Linked DNA regions of Homo sapiens: all the other regions are linked to region 3. Evidence: promoter capture Hi-C in 16 types of primary human blood cells and fetal thymus (Javierre and others, 2016). All regions are on one chromosome and are shown on one strand. The core of a region is centred on a gene start or on the middle of the fragment in contact, and the rest is flanking DNA. Distances in the headings are between cores, read along the strand shown. Region 1 overlaps ZIM3 (zinc finger imprinted 3). Region 2 has its middle 140 kb from the start of MIMT1. Region 3 holds the start of DPRX (divergent-paired related homeobox).

Region 1 (4,628 bases), core at 1,853-4,352, 3.5 Mb after region 3:
TATAGGGTTTCTCTCCCGTGTGTATTCTCTGGTGTTTCACAAGATCTGACTTGTAAATGAAAGCCTTTCCACAGTCCGTACATTGAAAGGGTTTTTGTCCAGTGTGAACTTTTTTATGTTGAATGAGGGTTGAGTTCTGCCTGAAGGATTTCTCACATTCATTACACTGATAGGATTTCTTGGCATTATGAATTTTCTCATGATTAATGCAGGATGATTTCCAGGAAAAGGCTTTTCCACATGTCTTACACTGATAGGGTTTCTCTTTAGTATGCATTTTCTGATGTTGAAAGAGATTTGACTTCTGCTTGTAGGCATTTCCACAGTTCTCACATTTATAGGGCCTTTCCTCTGCGTGAGTTTTCTGATGTTTATCAAGCTTCCACTTCTCCCCGAATGCTCTTCCACAGCTATGACATTCAAAGGGTTTTTGACAGGCATGCCTCCTCAGGTGACTTTGAAGGCGTGACTTTGAACTGAATAACTTTCTACAGGCATTACATTTCAGTTGTTGTCCTACAAATTTGGATGGATTATTGCCAACTAATTTTCTGTATCCATTATCATCGTGAGAATTATTTTGTACATAGTGTTGCAAGGAAGATACATCATCTATGCCCAGTGGAAGTATTTTCTTAGATCCGTCACATTCTACACCTTTCTGCGTAGTCAGCGTTTCCTTATTGATTGATGGGACTTCTCTTGCGAGACTCTCTTTCACATCCTTTGGCTTCCAAATCTGCCCTCCAATGTCCCCATTTTTTTCTAAAATGGAATACAAAAAAATGTCCTGTGTAAAACGTTCCACTCACATGCTTGAAATAAAATGCCATAAACAATCTATTGTGGTGATTATTCTGGCTTCAAACCTAATGTCTACGAGAAACCAAAGTTAATATAAGCTCTGTTAGAGTTCTATGTGAGCTAATGTTACATGAAGCTATCACATATCTGTCTGTAAAGGACTGAGCAACGTAGACCTAGTGCACAGGGAGCAGGTGAGAGCCTAGGGATACCAGGGAGAGGGAGATTAAGAAAGAGAGTTTGCCAGGCCAGGCACAGGGGCTCACACCTGTAATCCTAGCACTTTGGGAGGCTGAGGCGGGTGGATTGCCTGAGGTCGGGGGTTCAAGACCAGCCTGACCAACATGGCGAAACCCTGTCTCTACTAAAAATACAAAAAATTCGCCGGGCATGGTGGCAAGTGCCTGTAATCCCAGCTACTCGGGAGGCTGAGGCAGGAGAATCGTTCGAACTCGGGAGGCGGAGGTTGCAGTGAGCCCAGATCGCGCCACTGCACTCCAGCCTGGGCGACAGAGACTCCGTTTCCAGAAAAAAAAAAAAAAGAAAAAAAAAAGAGTTTGCCTGCAAAGGAAAACCCAGATAAGAATGTAAAGAAATTTCTGAGTGGAGAAAAATACCTGGAGATTTCTTCCAGCACTCCCAGGAAGTCACAGCTGGCTGCCAAACGACTTCCTCATTTAGAAAAGCTGAATTGGCTTCCATGCACCATTGACCCACAGTGCTCTCCTGGTCACCTACCTGCACGGCCACTTCCCAGCACTTCCTCTTCCTCCAACCATGGCTCCTTTCCTTGTTCCAACCTCAAGATCACATCGGGTTTGGTGGTTTCCCCTTGTCCTGTGATGGAAGATACCGCAAGGCTTGGTGTTTGTGGATGTGTGAGTTGTTTGTGCAAGTGTATGAGTGTATATAAGCGCTTGCGTATGCTTGTGTGAATATTTGTGTGTGAGTGTGAGCATTTATATGTCAGTGTGTGGGTATGTGCCATTGGTTGGGGGGAGTTGTGTGGATGGATGGTTTGAGGGAATGCACCTGAGCAGTCGAACTAAACAAAGAATGCTTTTTCTGGGCTGGGTGTGGCGGCTCATGCCTGTAATCCCAGCACTTTGGGAGGCCGAGATAGGAGAATTGCTAGAGCACAGGAATTTGAGACCAACATGTTACATGTAACATGAAGATAGCAAGACCCAGTCTCTACAAAACCAAAGCCACGTGTGGTGGTGCACGTCTGTGGTCCCAGCTATTCAGGAGGCTGAGGTGGGAGGATGGCTTGAGCCCAGGTCAATGTTGCAGTGACGCCAGGCGTGGTGGTTCATGCCTGTAATACCAGAACTTTGGGAGGCTGAGGCGGGCCGGTTATCTGAGGTCAGGAGTTCAAGACTAGCCTCACCAACATGGAGAAACCCCATCTGTGCAAAAAATACAAAAATTAGCCAGGCATGGTGGTGCACGTCTGTAATCCCAGCTACTCGGGAGGCTAAGGCAGGAAAATCACTGGAACCTGGGAGGCGGAGGTTGCAGTGAGCCGAGATCACACCACTGCACTCCAGCCTGGGTGACAGAGCGAGACTGTCTCCAAAAAAAAAAAATACTACAGTGAGCTATGATTGCACCACTGCACTCCAGCCTCGGTGACACAGCCAGACCCTGTTAGGAGAAAGGAGATAAAGAAAGAGAGAGGAATGGAGAGAGGGAGGGAGGGAGAAAGGAAGGAAGGAAGGAAGGAAGGAAGGAAAGAAGGAAGGAAGGAAGGAAAGAAGGAAGGAAAGAAGGAAGGAAGGAAGGAAAGAAGGAAGGAAGGAAGGAAGGAAGGAAAGAAGGAAGGAAGGAAGGAAAGAAGGAAGGAAAGAAGGAAGGAAGGAAGGAAAGAAGGAAGGAAGGAAGGAAAGAAGGAAGGAAAGAAGGAAGGAAGGAAGGAAAGAAGGAAGGAAGGAAGGAAGGAAAGAAGGGAGGTAGGAAGGGAGGAAGGGAAGGAGGCAGGGAGGGAGGGAGGGAGGGAGGGAGGGAAGGAAGGGAAAGAAAGAAATGCTTTTTCTTCTTGGAGGATAAAGCTTTTCCAAAAATCAAGACCAGGAGTAGGGTGAAGGGCAGGGCACCCAGCCCACAAAACTTACAGAGGCCCTCACTCATTCTCCCGGCACTTGCCGACCCTGAGAATGGGGGCTCCTTCAATACAGCACTTGGTACACTTCACTTGCCTCACCCTAGTCCCGGCTCTACAAAAACATATGCGAAGTGAGGAGCACCTCTGTGCCAACCCTATTTGGCCAGCCATGGGGTGTCTGTGTGTTTCACGCCTTAGGTTTTGAGTCCCCCTGCCCGGGAAGCCGTCCTTACCCACAGAGACAAGGTTGCTGTAATTCTCCAGCATCACATCCCTGTACAAGTTTCTCTGTTCGGGATTCAGCCGCTGCCACTCCCCCTGGGTGAAGTTCACAGTGACATCCTCGAAGGTCACTCTTCCCTGTAACAACAGATTCCCGATCAGTATAAAAATGCCATTGAATCCTGCGGCTGAGGATACAGAAACTTGTTTCTGCTGAACCAAGCTTTAATCATGTCCATAATTCACTCTACTCTGGATGAAAATAAATTGTGCCCAGAGGATCTTGCCAATGAGCCATAAACCTTAGACCTACTCATGACACTGCCATCTTTCTCCACCCTCTAGTCCCACCAATTTTACTTCCTGAATCTCAAACCCAGCCATTAGTTTCCATCTTCTCCACCATTCATAAATCCACCTTGTCATCTTTTACTTAGAGTAAGGCAGAGGCCGAGTATGGTGGCTCACACCTATCATCCCAACATTTTGGGAGGCCGAGGCAGGAGGATTGCTTGAGGCCAGGAGTTTGAGGCTAGCTGGGGAACATAGCAAAACCCCTATCTCAAAGAACATTTTATTATTTTGGCCGGGCACGGTGGCTCACACCTGTAATCCCTGCACTTTGGGAGGCCGAGGCGGGTGGATCACCTGAGGTCAGGAGTTCGAGACCAGTCTGGCCAACATGAAGAAACCCCATCTCTACTAAAAATACAAAAAATTAGCCAGGCATGGTGGCAGGCGCCTGTAATCCCAGCTACTCAGGAGGCTGAGGCAGGAGAATCACTTGAACCCAGGAGGTGGAGGCTGCAGTGAGCCAAGATTGCGCCACTGCACTCCAGCCAGGGCAACAAGAGCAAAACTCTGTCTCAAGAAAAAAAAGAAAAAGAAAAAGAAAAGAAAAGAAAATGTTATTATATTTTTTTTCTATTTTCCATTTTTCTTTAAGACATCCTGCCTCTATTAGAAATTCTTTTTTAAATAGAGGCCTGGCATGGTGGCTCACACCTATAATCCCAGCACTTCAGGAGGCTGAGACAGGTGGATCACCCGGGGTCAGGAGTTCGAGACCAGCCTCGTCAACATGGTGAAACCCCATCTCTACTAAAAATACAAAAATTAGCCAGGTGTCGTGGTGCGCGCCTGTAATCCCAGCTACTCAGGAGGCTGAGGCAGGAGAATCGCTTGAACCCTGGGAGGTGGAGGTTGCAGTGAGCTGAGATCACACCACTGCACTCCAGCCTGGGTGACAGTGAGACTCCATCTCAAATAAATAAATACATAAATAAGTAGAATAAGCCAATAGCCCCCTAATTCTTCCAGCTACATCTAAACTGACTGTAATCTATTTTCCACAGTCGACATTCAGACTGGATGGTGCGCTCCCCTAATTTATCAGCTTTCCTTGCATTTGGGAGAAACAGGTGACACCTGTTACAGGGGCCAGCGTCTGGCATGTCTACCACACTCCCACTCACACAGGGTCACACAGCACTCCCCT
Region 2 (4,759 bases), core at 460-2,959, 3.3 Mb after region 3:
AAAACTAATATTCTGTGGGGGTGGGGAGTGAACCATTAAATAATTACAAGCTGCGTGAGAGAGCTCACACCTGTAATACCAGCATGTTGGAAGGCTGAGGCGGGTGGATTACTTGAGACCAGGAGTTCAAGACCAGACTAGGCAAGATAGAAAGACTCTATCTCTACAGAAAATTTTTAAAAAGTCAGAAATGGTGTTGCATATCTCTAGTCCCAGCTACTTTGGAAGCTGAAATGGGAGGCTTGCTTGAGGCCAGGAGGTCGAGGCTGAAGCAATCTTCAAGAACAAATATTTGCTCAGGGACTTCTCTGGGCTGTGTGGCCACTAGGTCAAGAGTGGGCTGTGGACATGATAGGAGGCTACGATTAGGGTAATAGCCAAGGACAGAGGCAGGAATGGATGAATTTTGGATGGTAATACTATTCACCGAGTCACCACTGCACTCCAGCTTGGGCAACAGAGCGAAACCCAGTCTCTACCAAAAAAAAAAAAAAAAAAAATTGCACAATCACACGGATATAGGGAATCACACTTTTTTTTTTGGCCTCGGGCTTCAGTACAGCTCAGCACACATTGGGTTTGATTTAAATTTTGAGTATTTGTTCATCCATTATGGGGGGTTGCTTTCTGCGTTCATTTTGGTTTTCAAAACCATTGTGTTAAATATTATTTATCTTAAATAAAATTAACCATACTCACCATGTGGTATAATCCCCGGAACGTATTCCTCCTTCATGACTGAAATTTTGTGTCTTTGGACCAACATCTCCCGTCCCTGAACCCCTCAGCTTTCTGGATGACTGTGCACCTCCGTAAGCCTCTTCCTAATCCCCAGGTCTGCCTTTGAGGATATGACCTTTGAGCTGAAACGTGAAAATTGGGAAAGAAACAGCCATGGGGACTGTGGGGAAAGGAAATTCCAATTAGAGGAAAGGCAAGAGTGAAGGTCTTGGGGCAGGAAGCTTTTTCAGGGACAGTGAGGACAGCATGGCCAGGGGGTGGTGGGTAAGGAAAGCAGCAGACAAGAGCCAGGTTGCCACCGACCTTGTGGGCCAACCACGGGTAGCTTTCCTTTTAATCCAAGTGTTCTAGAGCCACCGATCTAGGCTCAGTTGGCATGGAAGGTGGGTGAGAGAATGACATTATCTGACTCATTTGCAGAAGGTCTGCAGCTTGATTTTTTTGGAGGATAGACTTATCATGGGGACAGGAGTGACCCTCATCATCAAGATGTGATAGTTATCTAGGGAGAGGTGTTGGTACCTGGACGAAGGTGAACAGAAGTGGATTGAATCTCATTACGTCATGAGAGTGAGAAGCACAGAGGATGACAGAGGATGATGTCTACGTTTCGAGTTTGGGCTCTTGCAGACTGGGTAGTGCCTTTTATAGAGACTGGGGAGACTTGGGGGTGAGGAGTAGAATTTTGAGGGGGACTGACAATTTTGATGTGAACGCGTTGGCTGAAGATGCCAATTTGACATCCATGAAGAGGACCTGTCCCGAAGCCTCACATTGCTAAACCCCAGAAAATATCAGTTTTGCCAGCCCAATAGATAACATCAGGGGATTCTATTTTTTGCATGTTTTCTCCTCAAGAGTCCAAGGATAACCCACTGAGTCCGCTCCTGATCTGAACCTCTAAGGTATTGCCAGGCCTGGTGTCCTAAACATCAGCCCATGAGGAAATCAGCCCTGGGCCCTGTACCACCAACACAACATCATGTCCTGTATCCCCAAAACATGCAAAAGTCTCATGAACATGCACATCCTCTGTGCTTCCCTCCCCTGAACCACCCTCATCCTCCTTTCTAGGTCCTTACTGCCACGCACGCGTGCAGTCTCATGAAAAAGGGGAATACTGTGACCGCCCCTGTTTCCAAACGGATATTGGGCCTCTTTTCAAGCGTACGTTTTCAGTTTACACTTTCAGAGTTTGTTGATTTGTGAGTTCAAGGCCCTCTCTGCCCTGCGGAGAGCACGGAAATTCCTGGAACTGGGGGCGTGTGTGAAGGGGACGTTGTCAACGCTAGGACAGAGAAGAAAGCCGCTCATTTTGATGTGTCAGAGCGGTGGGGGGTGGGGCTTCCAGCCCCTGGCATCTCAGCCCTATCCTTCCTTCCTGCACTGTGCTTCTCACAAACAGCAGGGGCTTGTGTTACTTTGAGTCGATAGCCTCATTCACGACACTCTCACAGAATAGTGCCCGTCTGTGCTCAGCACATGCCCGTAAAACAGGATTCCCCAAACACGTCCATAGGTAACTGTAAATCATTTAGAAGAATCTAAAGTGTGAATTTTGTAAACTGAAGCTACGTGCATGTATACACGTGTGTGTTTGTGTATATCATATATACACATTAATGTTATTATTATTATTTGCAATACCCAGCATCGCATAATAGGTGGGATAATGCAGATGCCACTCCAAGCCAAATCTCCTGGCCCCACCGGTCATAAGCTTACCTCTGTAGGGAAGAAAAGGTTTCTTTTTGGCAGTGGTTTGTTGTTTGTTTGTTTGTTTTGAGACAGGGTCTTATTCTGCGGCACTGGTTGGAATGCAGTGGTGCGGTCACTGAAGCCTCGACCTCCTGGGCTCAAGTGATCCTCCCACCTCAGCCTCCCAAGTAGCTGGGGCTACAGATACGCACCACAACGCCCAGTTAATTTTTGTATTTTTTGTACAGATGGGGTTTTGCCATATTGCCTAGGCTGATCTGTAACTCCTGAGCTCAAGCGATCTGCCTACCTCAGCCTCCCAAAGTGCTGGGATTGCAGGCATGGGCCAGTGTGCCTGGCCTCTTTTTCCTCACCAATTGCTAGGTTCATGACTGAGGCCCCTGTAACACAAGACAGATCAACCAAAAAAAAAAATCATACAGATTTATTTAGTATAAGTTTTATGTGACACGGGAGCCTTCCACAAGGAAATAAAGACCCAAAGAAACAGAAAAACGTGTATATTTGATGCTGGTCTGATGAAGAAGTGGATGGCTGTGGAGAAGTATTTGACAGAGGCAGTGTGCTCTCATGCTACAAGAGTGAGAGAGTGAGGGGAGCTTTTCAAGGCCTGTTTGTTCAGATTCAGTGTCTTCAGAGATAAGGATGCTCCTCTCCTACGGGTACAGAGAGGGCACGCTGGAATGACAGTCTTACAATTGCTTCAGAGAGAAGGACGAGGAAAGCTGAGACAGGCATTTCTGCTCATGCTGTTTTCTCAAATGCCAACGTGCCATATTTCAGGGTACCATGTCCCGAGCCCCACCATCTCCTAGGTAGGAATTCAGGATTTTGGTGTTTGTCCTACTAGTAATGGGAACCCAACAGGAAGGGAATTCCAAGTGTGAGAATTCCAGCCAAAGCCCAGGGTATTCCAGGGACCCCTCAGTAAGCTGTTGCAACACTCGGAGCCAGGAGATGCTGGTGGCCGGTAGGGGGTGGTGGCCAGGACCTTAGATGGATGGGCCACCCTCAGGGGAGGTTCTGTGGTACAGGGTGGTGGCCAGGACCTCAGATGGATGGGCCACCCTCGGGGGAGGTTCTGTGGTACGGGGTGGTGGCCAGGACCTCAGATGGATGGGTCACCCTCAGGGGAGGTTCTGTGGTACGGGGTGGTGGCCAGGACCTCAGATGGATGGGCCACCCTCGGGGGAGGTTCTGTGGTACGGGGTGGTGCCCAGGACCTCCGATGGATGGGCCACCCTCAGGGGAGGTTCTGTGGTACAGGGTGGTGGCCAGGACCTCACATGGATGGGCCACCCTCAGGGGCGGTTCTGTAGGCCACCTCGCGGGACTCCATGACAGACGTTAAGCATGGAGCCTGGAGAGGAGGACCCCAGGTGGAGGCCCTGGTCCCGCCTTTACGAATGGGTAGAAAGGGCTTCCGTCTACTGAGACAGGGGTCTTGCTCAATCTCACTCACATGGATGCTCCAGGAAGAAGGAGCCCACTCTTCCCACAAAGAAAAGAAAGATGGCTGGGGGTGATGGCTCACGCCTGTAATCCCAGCACTTAGGGAGGCCGAGGCGGGAGGATCACCTGAGGTCAGGAGTTTGAGACCAGTCTGGGCAACATGGTGAAACCCCATCTCTACTAAAAATACAAAAATTAGCCAGGCATGGTGGCGGGGGCCTGTAATTCTCCTGTCTCAGCCTCTCAAGTAGCTGGGATTACACGTGCCCACCACCACAGCCTGGCTAATTTTTGTCTTTTTAGTAGAGACAGGGTTTCACCAGGTTGGCCAGGCTGCTCTCAAACTCCTGACCTCAGGTGATTCACCCGACTCGGCCTCCAAAAGTGCTGGGATTACGGGTGTGAGCCACCGTGCCTGGCCTAAAATACATTTTATAGCCTATAAGAGTGTCTCATTTCAAGCACAGACCACAGGCCTGGTATACAGTAGGTGCTTACTACAGCCTTGTCGATCTGAATTCTATCAGCTCTTCTCAACAGTTCTATAAATCAAGAACAATGGGTGTTCAGGACTCTAAACTTCCATACAAATTCTCTGGACATCCCCTTCCAGCAAGGTGCTGTTCCCACCCCTCCAGAAAAACATTCTGTAGCTCCTACTGATTATGGGCCATGAGAAGGAGTGGGAGTTTTATTCTGAGAAAATAGTAAGAACTGATTGCAGAGTTAGGCACGGGAGGCGGATGCTCCGATTTTCCTTTGAAAAGGATCAGGGCCTTTCGAAAAGCAATTGCGGACTTTCAAGGGCAGACGATCTCTGGTCACGGGGTTGTTTGTGCAGCGGGGC
Region 3 (4,189 bases), core at 1,608-4,107:
GGTCTCTACTAAAAATACGAAAATTAGCCAGGCGTGTTAGTGCACACCTGTAATCCCACCTACTCAGGAGACTGAGGCATGAGAATCACTTGAATTTAGGAGGCAGAGAAGTTGCAGTGAGCTGAGATCCTGCCACTGCACTCCAGCCTGGGCAACAGAGCAAGACTCTGTCTCAAAAAAAAAAAAAAAAAAGAGGAATGAGATACCGACACATTATACCATGAGGATAAACCTTGAAAACAACATGCTCAGTAAAAGAAGCCAGCACACAAAAGGTTACATATTATATAATGTAATTTTATTTTAGTTTTTGAAAAGCTGGTCTCCTGGGCTCAAGCGATCCTCCCTTCTTGGCCTCCCAAACTGCTGGGATTACAGGTGTGAGCCACTGTGTCCGGCCTATGATTTTTTTTTTTTAATGAAATACCTGGAAAAGATAAATCCAGAGAAACAGACGGCAGATTACAGGCTCTTTTTAAATTGGTTTCTGACACTATCACAAGATAAAAATGTGGTTTAAAATTGTTGCTTGGTATGTCTTATTCACCTCTAAAGATATACTGTTCATCAGGCCGGGTGCAGTGGCTCACACCTGTAATCCCAGCACTTTGGGAGGCTGAGGCGGGAGGATGGCTTGAACCCAGGAGTTCTAGGCTGTAATGTGCTCTGCCAATTGGGCATCCACACTAAGTTCGGCATCAATATGGTGACCTCCCACCAGGTTGCCTAAGAAGTGGGGAAATGGTCTAGGTTGAAAATGGAGCAGGTCAAAATTTTCATGCTGGCTGGGCACAGTGGCTCACACATGTAATCCCAGCACTTTGGGAGGCCAAGGCAGATGGATCACCTGAGGTCAGGAGTTTGAGACCAGTCTGGCCAACATGGTGAAACCCTGTCTCTACTAAAAATACAAAAAAAAAAATTAGCTGGGCATGGTGGCATGTGCCTATAATCCCAGCTATTTGGGAGGCTGAGGCAGGAGAGTTGCTTGAACCCAGGAGGCAGAGGTTGCAGTGAGCCGGGATCACGCCACTGCACTCTAACCTGGGCGACAGAGTGAGACTCCATCTCAAAAAAAAAAAAAAAAACTTTCATGCTGATCAGTAGTGGAATCAGCTTGTGAATTGCCCTCCAGCCTGAGCAACACAGACTGCCTCTTACTAATCCCAGCACTTTGGGAGGCTGAGGTGGGAGGATGGCTTGTGCCTAAGACTTTGAGACTAGCCTAGCCAAAATCCCTTCTCTACAAAAAATGCAAAAATTAGCTGGGTATGGTAGTGTGCACCTGTAGTCCCAGTTACTCAGGAGGCTTAGGTGAGAGGCTCACCTAGGCCCAGGAGGTTAAGGCTGCATTGAGCTATGATTTTGCCACTGCACTCCAGGCTGGGCCTAGGCCTTTGTAGTCACAGCTACTTGGGGGCAAATGTAGGAGGATCACTTGAGCCCAGTAGGTCGAGGCTGCAGTCAGCTGTGTTTTTTGAGACATAGCAAGACCCTGTCTCAAAAAGAAAAAAAAAAGTAGCTACAAGCTCATTTATGCAAAGGCTAACCACTGTCACAAGTAGAGATGTGCAGAACTGAGATTCAAATGGATGGAATGGCAAGAAAAACTGCCACTTCTGTGAACCTGAAGTCAAACTGCCCTTGTCGTCAAGATAAAAGGTATACATGGTGTGAGCCTGGGCATCTGAAAGGTGTTGCAGCTTTTTCTTTTATTTTTTTGAGATGGAGTCTCACTCCTGTCACCCAGGCTGGAGTGCAGTGGTGCGATCTCAGCTCACTGCAACCTCTGCCTCCTGGGTTCAAGCAATTCTCCTGCCTCAGCCTCCTGAGTAGCTGGGATTACAGGTGCCCACCACCACACCCAGCTAATTTTCGTATTTTTAGTAGAGATGGGGTTTCGCCATGTTGGCCAGGCTGGTCTCGAACTCCTGACCTCAGGTGATCCGCCTGCCTCAGCCTCCCAAAGTGCTGGGATTACAGGTGTGAGCCACCTGTAATTAGCCAGGCTTGGTGGTGGGTGCCTGTAATCCCAGCTACTGGGAAGGCTGAGGCAGGAGAATTGCTTGAACCTGAGAGGCGGAGGTTGCTGTGAGCCGAGATCGTGCCACTGCACTCCAGCCTGGGTGACAGAGTGAGACTCCATCTCTAAATAAATAAATAAATAAATAAAATGAGATGATTTCTGAGTGAGTTAACTAAATCAGGATATGCAGAACAATGCCAAGCATATATTAGCCACTAAAGAATATATAAGTTGCCTGAAAGCCCCTTTAGGGTTTAAACCTGGACTTCATTATTCACAATCACATTCCCGGTCCCCATTACGGAGCCTGGTCACCTGGGTGCTTGTTAGATATGGAAATCATCAGATCCCACCCCAGACCGAGTCAGAAACGTTGAGGGCAGGAGTTCAAGACCAGCCTGGCCAACATGGCGGAAACTCCGTCTCTACTAAAAATACAAAAATTAGTCAGGAGTGGTGGCACAGGCCTGTGATCTCAGCTACTCGGGAGGCTGAGACATGAGAATCCCTTGAACCTGGGAGGCAGAGGCTGCAGTGAGCCAAGATGGTGTCATTGCGCTCCAGCCTGGGTGACAGAGTGGGACTCTGTCTCAAAGAAAAAGAAAAAAAGAAAAGAAATTGCAGCTTCTGCTCAGGAAGTCTGGAGTGGGCCAGGATTCTGCATTTTAACAACTCCCAGGAGTGTTAGTGGGGCTGGTTTGTGGACTCGCCTTTGAGTCGTTGGTCTCCGCTCAATCAATATTAGATAAAATGACAGTATTGGGAGAAATCCAGGGGGCTCTGGAGGACCGAGGGATCATATTGGAGGCAGATAGGGCAGAGAAAGGTGGAGGAGGTGGGAGTCGGGTGTGGCTGTGGAGGAAGCTACTTAAATCCGGATTTGATCTTTGCTAGTTCTTATCCCTGGACCTGAACCCAGGCGCACATCTGGATTAGAAGATGCCAGGCTCAGAGGATCTTCGTAAAGGTAAGCCAGAAAAAATGAGAACCGAAGCAAAGACACGTGAAGAAGTGGAAAGCAGCTGGCGGCGGGAAAAGGCAGAGGGACCAGGCGGCCGAAGCTGGTGCTTCGTCCACGTGGGTGGCAGGGACTTCCCACAGAGGCTGTCATCGTTTTTGTTGTTGTTGTTTTGTTTTGTTTTGTTTGTCTTTTGAGACAGTCTCACTCTGTCGCTCAGGCTGGAGTGCAGTGGCACGATTTCGGCTCACTGCAACCTCCACCTCCCAGGTTCAAGCAATTCTCCTGCCTCAGCCTCCCGAGTAGCTGGGATGACAGGCACACGCCACCACACCTGGCTAATTTTTTTTTTTTTTGTATTTTTAGTAGAGCCGGGGGTTTCACCATATTGACCAGGCTGGTCTCGAACTCCTGACCTTGTGATCCGTCTGGCTCAGCCTCCCAAAGTGCTGGGGTGACAGGCGTGAGCCACTGCACCCGGCCCAAGTTTTGTATCTTTATAGAGATGGGGTTTCACCATGTTAGCTAGGTTGGTCTCAAGCCCCTGACCTCATGTGATTGGCTGGCCTCGGCCTCCCAAAGTGCTGGGATTACAGGCATGAGCCTCGGTGCCCGGCCGCGGCTGTCATCTGACAGCACAGGCAAATGCAGGGAAGCCTGTTTCTGCCTTCAAATCCGAAATCTTCTCCCTCGTAGTTGTGTCCTAATTCTTCCCACCCCGATGCTTGTTCTTGAGCACAGGGGAATCTGATTCCTATGAGGATGATTAGGTCCTAGATAGAATATAGGCTTAGCCAAGCTGGAAATCTCATGTTCATGAGCACTTACTAGACTCTGGAGCTGCTGCCAAACCATTTTCAGGCATGATGCGATTCAGATCTTTTAGAGCGAGGCATGCGGTGGCTCATGCCTGTAATCCCAGCACTTTGGGAGGCCGAGGTGGGCAGATCGCTTCAGCCCAGGAGTTCAAGACCAGCCTGGGCAACAAAACAAGACGTTGTCTCTACAAAAAATACAAAAATTAGCCGGGCATGTCAGTGTTGTGTAGTTCCAGCTACTCGGGAGGCTGAGGTGAGAGGATCGCTTGAGCCTGGGGAGGTTGAGGCTGAAGTGAGCTGTGATCATGCCACTGGGCAACACAGCAGTACACTGTCTCAAGAAAAAGAAAGTAAAAGGTGACATCCGTGACAGCAGTGATGTTATTT

The links. The method cuts DNA at HindIII sites, captures the fragments that hold promoters and counts their contacts. A CHiCAGO score of 5 or more calls a contact.
Region 1: a fragment that was not itself captured here is called in contact with the fragment with the promoter of DPRX in region 3 in 2 of 17 cell types (total B cells and non-activated CD4 T cells); the score reaches 6.4 in total B cells.
Region 2: a fragment that was not itself captured here is called in contact with the fragment with the promoter of DPRX in region 3 in 1 of 17 cell types (naive B cells); the score reaches 7.8 in naive B cells.

Annotation. Positions count from the first base shown.
Region 1 is chr19:57,135,331-57,139,958 of GRCh38, forward strand. ZIM3 (zinc finger imprinted 3) reads right to left here. Exons shown (of 5, transcript NM_052882.1): 3 at 3,142-3,268; 4 at 1,543-1,641; 5 at 1-765. Among named protein-coding and RNA genes, the nearest start is that of ZIM3, 7.6 kb to the right of the region's middle. The HindIII fragment of the contact is 498 bases long and covers 2,854-3,351 here.
Region 2 is chr19:56,976,244-56,981,002 of GRCh38, forward strand. No RefSeq gene overlaps it. Among named protein-coding and RNA genes, the nearest start is that of MIMT1, 140 kb to the left of the region's middle. The HindIII fragment of the contact is 1,499 bases long and covers 961-2,459 here.
Region 3 is chr19:53,629,142-53,633,330 of GRCh38, forward strand. It overlaps DPRX (divergent-paired related homeobox), which reads left to right and starts at 2,858. Exons shown (of 3, transcript NM_001012728.2): 1 at 2,858-2,993. The coding sequence starts at 2,966. It also overlaps the pseudogene RN7SL317P. The HindIII fragment of the contact is 17,175 bases long and covers 1-4,189 here.